2 separate regions of the Homo sapiens genome follow, and region 1 is linked to region 2. The links are contacts of gene promoters, found by promoter capture Hi-C in human tissues and cell types (Jung and others, 2019). All regions are on one chromosome and are shown on one strand. The core of a region is centred on a gene start or on the middle of the fragment in contact, and the rest is flanking DNA. Distances in the headings are between cores, read along the strand shown.

Region 1 (3,200 bases), core at 181-2,680, 62 kb before region 2:
TGCTGGAGTCTTCTGGAGTTTGGGTTGTTGTTGTTGTTGTTGTTGTCGTATTTTGTTAAAACATTCCTGTTCTTCTGAAAGGATACCTGGAGGCTTTATCTGGATTCCTAGGGTCCTCTATCCACAAAAAGTCAGTAAAGCCACGTCTCTAATTTTGGGAAAATGTGGGTGTGTGTCCTAAGACCCTCATGGTGGGTGGAATAATTTGCTATAGGGCAAGTTGGAGAGTGACCAAGGATGCCTCAAATAATGTCTCCCTTTTCATTACGGGGGAGTGCCTTTCAGAATTACACAGCAAGGGTGAATTATACGTTGACTCGTCATCTGTGACAAATTTCATGCAGCTCAAGGCTATCAACAGCAGCTCCCTTGCCAACAGCTTGCAGCAGCTGCCGCTGATCAAGGCAGTCAGCTCGATCCCCGTAGCCTTCCGTGAAGGACCACGGGCTGGTCAGAAGCAGTCTGACAGGTCACAGAGCCAGCCCAGCTGTTGGGGGGATTAGCTGTAAGGAAAGCTGATCCTATGACACATGCTTTAGGTATGTCCGCCCCTGGGAAACGTGACCTTCAAGGTTTGCGTTATAGAACTTTATTCGCTTCAAAAGATGGAGAACACTTTTGTTTTCTGAGTCCCTGGAGAATCATGATGCAGACAGCTTTGGAGGTACCCAAAGAAATGGAACACAGAATCCCAATTACATATAGGCCGCACACATGATAAACAACTGCTGGTTTGGGAATTGCTGGGCGAAGCTTCCTTTCGGCAGTTTGCTCAGAATATATTGCTGATGATTTCTGAGATGCTCAATTCATCATTCACAATTGCTTTGCAGTAAAATGCTTGCAGAAGGGAAAATAGCTGTGAACGCTGCTCCCCAAGGAGGAAAGCCTATAACTGCTGGAGCCAAAGATGTCATCGCAGGTTTTATCAGTATTTCATTTTCTTCCCATGAAACCGATAAGCATTCGAAGCCCTGAGTGTGGTGAGAATTAAGCAAGATTTGCCTCTTTCTGATTCTTTCCACAAGGTAGTGGGAATTTGAAATGGGAGAATGATGTTGTCCTATCTGTTGTGTGGAAAGATTACCTTGGCTTTGCTTGTGAGAAGGGATGGACGGGGGGGCAGTATCATGGAAAAAGTTTGAGAATATACAAAGGTAGGCAAAATAGCATAAGAAATCCCTTCTACTCATTGTCTGCAGTCATCAGCTCATGGCCCAACCTGTTGTGTCTATACCCCCATCACATCACTGGCATTGTTTGTAAAGCAAATCCCAGACATGATACCATGTCCTCCATAAACATTTCCATATCTGTGTTTTGTAAAGACTCTTGCAGAAAGCTGACTTCTGAACCAAAGCCCCATGCATATGTGCCCTTGGAAGGTCACTACCTGATACTGTCTATTGCTGGAAAAAGAGCAGCTTGCATAAGCATTTTTACCCACAAAACTGAAGCTATAGAATACACTAGGGAAATGCAGCTCATTGCTTGGGAGTTATGCATTAGATATGCTATGATCTGGTTCTACAGGCATTTATTGATTATTGACTCTTTGCTAGGAACTGTTTTGGGCATTAGGACATGGTCCTTGCCCCTGAGATACTCACCATCTAATGGAAGACACAGACCAAAAAACAAGTAATATAGTCAATGTCATGTGTGGTATGTAATAGCAAAATGTATCCCGTACTGAATGCTCCAGACTGGTGGAAAAATCATAATAAAATAAGAAGCAAGAACGGCAGCAGAATAGCTGGGGTTTACTGAGAACTTACTGTTTCGAGCACCCAAGATACAAAGCAACACGTTAGAGAAGATGGTCATTGTTTGGAAATTAGAGAAAAGCTGCTGGAAAAGAGGATTTAGAGATATAGTTTGGAGGACCACAACCAGCTTGCACATGTTTTTATGGTTTAGAAATGGCAACTCCAGAATTTTTTTTTTTTTTTTTGACAGAGTCTAGCTCTGTCGCCCAGGTTGGAGTGCAGTGGCGTGATCTTGGCTCACTGCAACTTCTGCCTCCCAAGTTCGAGCGATTCTCCTACCTCAGTCTCCCGAGTAGCTGGGACTACAGGCACATGCCGCCATACCTGGCTAAATTTCTTTCTATTTTTAGTAGAGATGGGATTTCACCATGTTGGTCAGGCTGGTCTCAAACTCCTGACCTCAGGTGATCCACCCACCTCGGCCTCCCAAAGTGCTGGGATTACAGGCGTGTGTCACCGTATCCAGCCCAGAATTCTGACCGCGTGGTTCTCAGTCCAAAAACATTGTCCCCCTTCCTGAGTCAGATGGCAACACAAAAATGCCTTGGGAACCAGCTGGGCCATTTCATGCAGCAGTAATTCTCTGGATCAGTCTCCTCGTGTGACTGATCCTGGTTTTAAGAAACTTGCTTCTATTTCCTGGTCAGAAAAGTCTCTCCCTCCTGCCTCATCTTTTCTACCCCTGTTTAGACACCACTCCTAGTTCAAAGCACCATTGCCTCCTGCCTGGATGGTTGTAGTGGTCACTCACCTGGTTTCCTTTCTTCTACTATTGCTCTACCATCATCAGCTCTCCTTAGAAATCAGAGGATCAGTGGGGTGTGGTGGCTCATGCCTGTAATCTCAGCACTTTGGGAGGCCAAGACAGGAGGATCGCTTGAGCCCAAGAGTAGTTCAAGACCAGCCTGGGCAACATAGTAAGACCCTATATCTTAACAAAAATATATATTTTGTATGTATATCTTTTTATATATATATTTGTATATATATTTATAGATGCATCTTTATATATATTTATAGATGCATCTTTATATATATTTATAGATGTCTTTATATATATTTATAGATGCATCTTTATATATATTTATAGATGCCTTTATATATATTTATAGATGCGTCTTTATATATATTTATAGATGTCTTTATATATATTTATAGATGTGTCTTTATATATATTTATAGATGTCTTTATATATATTTATAGATGTCTTTATATATTTATAGATGCATCTTTATATATTTATAGATGTCTATATATTTATAGATGCATCTTTATATATTTATAGATGTCTTTATATATTTATAGATGCATCTTTATATATATTTATAGATGTTTTTATATATATTTATAGATGTCTTTATGTATATTTATAGATGTCTTTATATATATTTATAGATGTCTTTATATATATTTATAGATGCATCTTTATA
Region 2 (3,393 bases), core at 545-3,044:
TGAGGAGGAAATGGGGTACAGAGAGCTTAAGCAACTTGCCAGTGTCATGCAGCAGGGAAGCGCTGGAGGCAGGGCTCCAACCCACGCAGCCTTGCTGCATGTTTGTGGAATGAACACAGGACTCAGGCACACAACCATCTGGCTGAGGCTCCATGAGCAGCCAGGAGCCTGGTCCCAATGCAGTCTCCTTATAGGCACAAATGGGGTGCCCCTTGAGACAGGAATAATAAAGGTGGTCACAGGAGAACGGAAAATTCCAGGCAACAGTTTCACATGACTAGCAAAGGAAACCGTTGAAATCGCTGCGTAAGCTAGGGGCGGATAAGACTCTGAAAACCAGGGTGTGGGCCAAGCTGGCTAAAGCCGACTGGACCCAACATGGTGCTGGATTCGACCCGTTTCACCTAGGACCTCTCATTATGTGCTCATTAACATACTAAGTCACACACCCACTGTGACAGCTCTGGGGAACACCCGTATTTAGTATAAAAATGTGTGGCACCGCAGTACCAAGAAATGTTTACCTTTTTCCAAGAATCTTCATGAATATTCCACCCCTTGGTTAAATAAATATTTAAAGGTAGCTCCAAACCCCGCTGGGCGTGATGCTCTGTGGTATGCCTGCACTTTTCTTTCTTCAGTACGTACTTATTCCCGTCGCAATGAATCTCCACACTTTGTTCTGCTCATCCATGAATTCCTTCTCACGACAGTGTCAAGAGCCTGGACACCAGTCAGGGTCGAGGCCTCACCAGCATCTTGGGGCCTCACTGGGCACAGACGCGTGAGCGCCCGGCCTGCAGACCTGACTCTGGCAGCCGCTCAGGCCCTCAGAGGGAGAGATGGAAGCTGGCAGGACGCAGTTGCTACCGCGCGGACCCGGCCCCCGACCAGCCTTGGCCCCTCGCGCGCCGGGACAGGGCCACAAATGACTGCACCTGGGCTTCGCTGGCCCAGGCACCACGCGACTCTAAGCGCGCCCAAAGCGACCCTCTGCGCAAACTACCCCCGGGGACGACGTCACCCGTGAGGTCCCGCGGCGCCTCCTCCTAAAGCTCGGCTGGGAAACCGTCCGCTTCCCCAAGACTTGGGGGCTTGTGGCCGAGTTGTTTTAGTTTTCCTGTAGGATTCACGGGTGGCTGAGGCAAACACGCTTGAAGGCCTAAGACTTTTAAGTCTCTTCCGCACCCTCTCTTCTGTCTCTTCCACCTGGAGGATGACCGCTTTTTTGGGGGTTTTGTTGTTGTTTTGAGACGGAGTCTCGCTCTGTCGCCCAGGCTGGATTGTAGTGGCGCCATCTCCGCTCACTGCAACCTCCGCCTCCCGGGTTCAAGCGATTCTCCTGCCTCAGCCTCCCGAGTAGCTGGGATTACAGGCGCCCACCACCATGCCCGGCTGATTTTTGTATTTTTAGTAGAGACGGGGTTTCGCCACGTTGGTCAGGCTAATATCAAACTCCTGACCTCAGGTGATCCGCCCTCCTCGGCCTCCCAAAGTGCTGGGATGACAGGCGTGAGCCACCGCGCCCGGCCGGGATGACTGTTATTAACAATTCCCGGCGTGGTTTCTAGCACCAGCCCACCTACCACACCCCACCTCGCTTGAGGCTGAATGGGTAACAGGATGAACCCGCCCCTGGGCTGGTTTTCTCTGAACCCTAACTCCTGCCGTTACGCCCCACCAGCTCTAGGCCAGGAACTCTATGTGCCCCGGCCACGCTAGAGCCCGTACCTAGACCCGTAGGTCGGGAGGCCTGCGCCCGGCACTGCGCAGACGCAGCGTGCTGTGCCCAGAACTCTTCTGTTCCCAGGAGAATCAGGGGAGTCGGCGCCGGAAGGGGCGGGTCCGAGCTGAGATTTCCAGAGCCATGGGAGCCGGAAGTCCAAGGAACTGTACCTCCATCATGACGACTCCGGTTACGTAAAAACATTCAAACAGAAAATGCTGGCCAGGCTCATGCCTGTAATCCCAGCACTTTGGGAGGCCGAGGCGGGAGGATCGCTTGTGCCCAGGAGTTGGAGACCAGCCTGGGCAACATAGTGAGACCCTCCCCCCACCCATCTCTACAAAAAATTTTAAAATTAGCTAGCTGAGATCATGCCACTGCACTCCAGCCTGGACAACAAAGTGAGACTATGTCTCAAAAAAATTTAAAAATTACCCACGCCTGTAGTGTCAGATAGTCAGGAGGCAGAGGTTGGAGGATGACTTGAGCCTTGGGGATCGAGGGTGTAGTGAGGTATGATCGCACCACTGCACTCCAGCCTGGGCAACAGAGCAAGACCCTGTCTCAAAAACTATATAAAAGAAAAAAGGGCTGGGTCGGTGGCTCACGCCTGTCATGCCAGCACTTTGGGAGGCCGAGGCGGGTAGATCACCTGAGGTCAGGAGTTTGAGACCAGCCTGACCAACAAGGTGAAACCCTGTCTCTACTAAAAATACAAAAATTAGCTGGCCATGATGGTGGGTGCCTGTAATCCCAGCTACTGGGGAGGCTGAGGCAGGAGAATCACTTGAACCCCAGAGGTGGAGGTTGCAGTGAGCCGAGATCACACCACTGCACTCCAGCCTGGGCGACAGAGCGAGAGACTCCGTCTCAAAAAAAAAAAAAAAAAAAAAAAAACAGAAAAAAGGCCGGGCACGGTGGCTCACTCCTGTAATTCCAGAACTTTGGGAGGCCAAGGCGGGCGGATCAGGAGTTCGAGACTGCCTGGGCAACATAGCGAAACCCCGTCTCTACTAAAAATACAAAAAATTAGCCAGGCGTGGTGGCGGGCTCCTGTAATCCCAGCTACTCAGGAGGCTTAGGCAGGAGAATCACTTGAACCCAGGAAGCAGAGGCTGCAGTGAGCCGAGATCACGCCATTAAACTCCAGCCTCGGTGACAGAGTGAGACTCCATCCCCGCTCCGCTCCCTCACCTCCCGCCAAAAAAAAAAAAGAAAATGCACTGCAATAGAAAAATAAAAGTACTACACTTTGGTCAAACAGGGTAACTACTAGAACGTAAAATGATCTTTTTGAAACTATCCACATTTGTTACACGTGTTGAAAATGTAGGATATATATGTTATATATATACTTATATATGTTATATATACTTATATATGTTATATACTTATATATGTTATGTACTTATATATTATATATACTTATATATGTTATATCTACTTATGTTATATACTTATATATGTTATATATACTTATATATGTTATACATACTTATATGTTATATATACTTATGTTATATACTTATATATGTTATATATACTTATACATGTTATACATACTTATATGTTATATATACTTATATATGTTATATATACTTATATATGCTATATATACTTATATATGCTATGTATACTTATATATGTTATATATATACTTATATGTA

The links. Contacts are between HindIII fragments. The study calls those that stand out against the background at their distance.
Region 1: a fragment that was not itself captured here is called in contact with the fragment with the promoter of USP29 in region 2 in 3 of the 25 tissues and cell types used here (neural progenitor cells, psoas muscle and spleen).

What each region holds. Positions count from the first base shown.
Region 1 is chr19:57,056,736-57,059,935 of GRCh38, forward strand. No RefSeq gene overlaps it. Among named protein-coding and RNA genes, the nearest start is that of USP29, 62 kb to the right of the region's middle. The HindIII fragment of the contact is 6,225 bases long and covers 1-3,200 here.
Region 2 is chr19:57,118,191-57,121,583 of GRCh38, forward strand. USP29 (ubiquitin specific peptidase 29) reads left to right here and starts at 1,795. Exons shown (of 4, transcript NM_020903.3): 1 at 1,795-2,039. The HindIII fragment of the contact is 14,839 bases long and covers 1-3,393 here.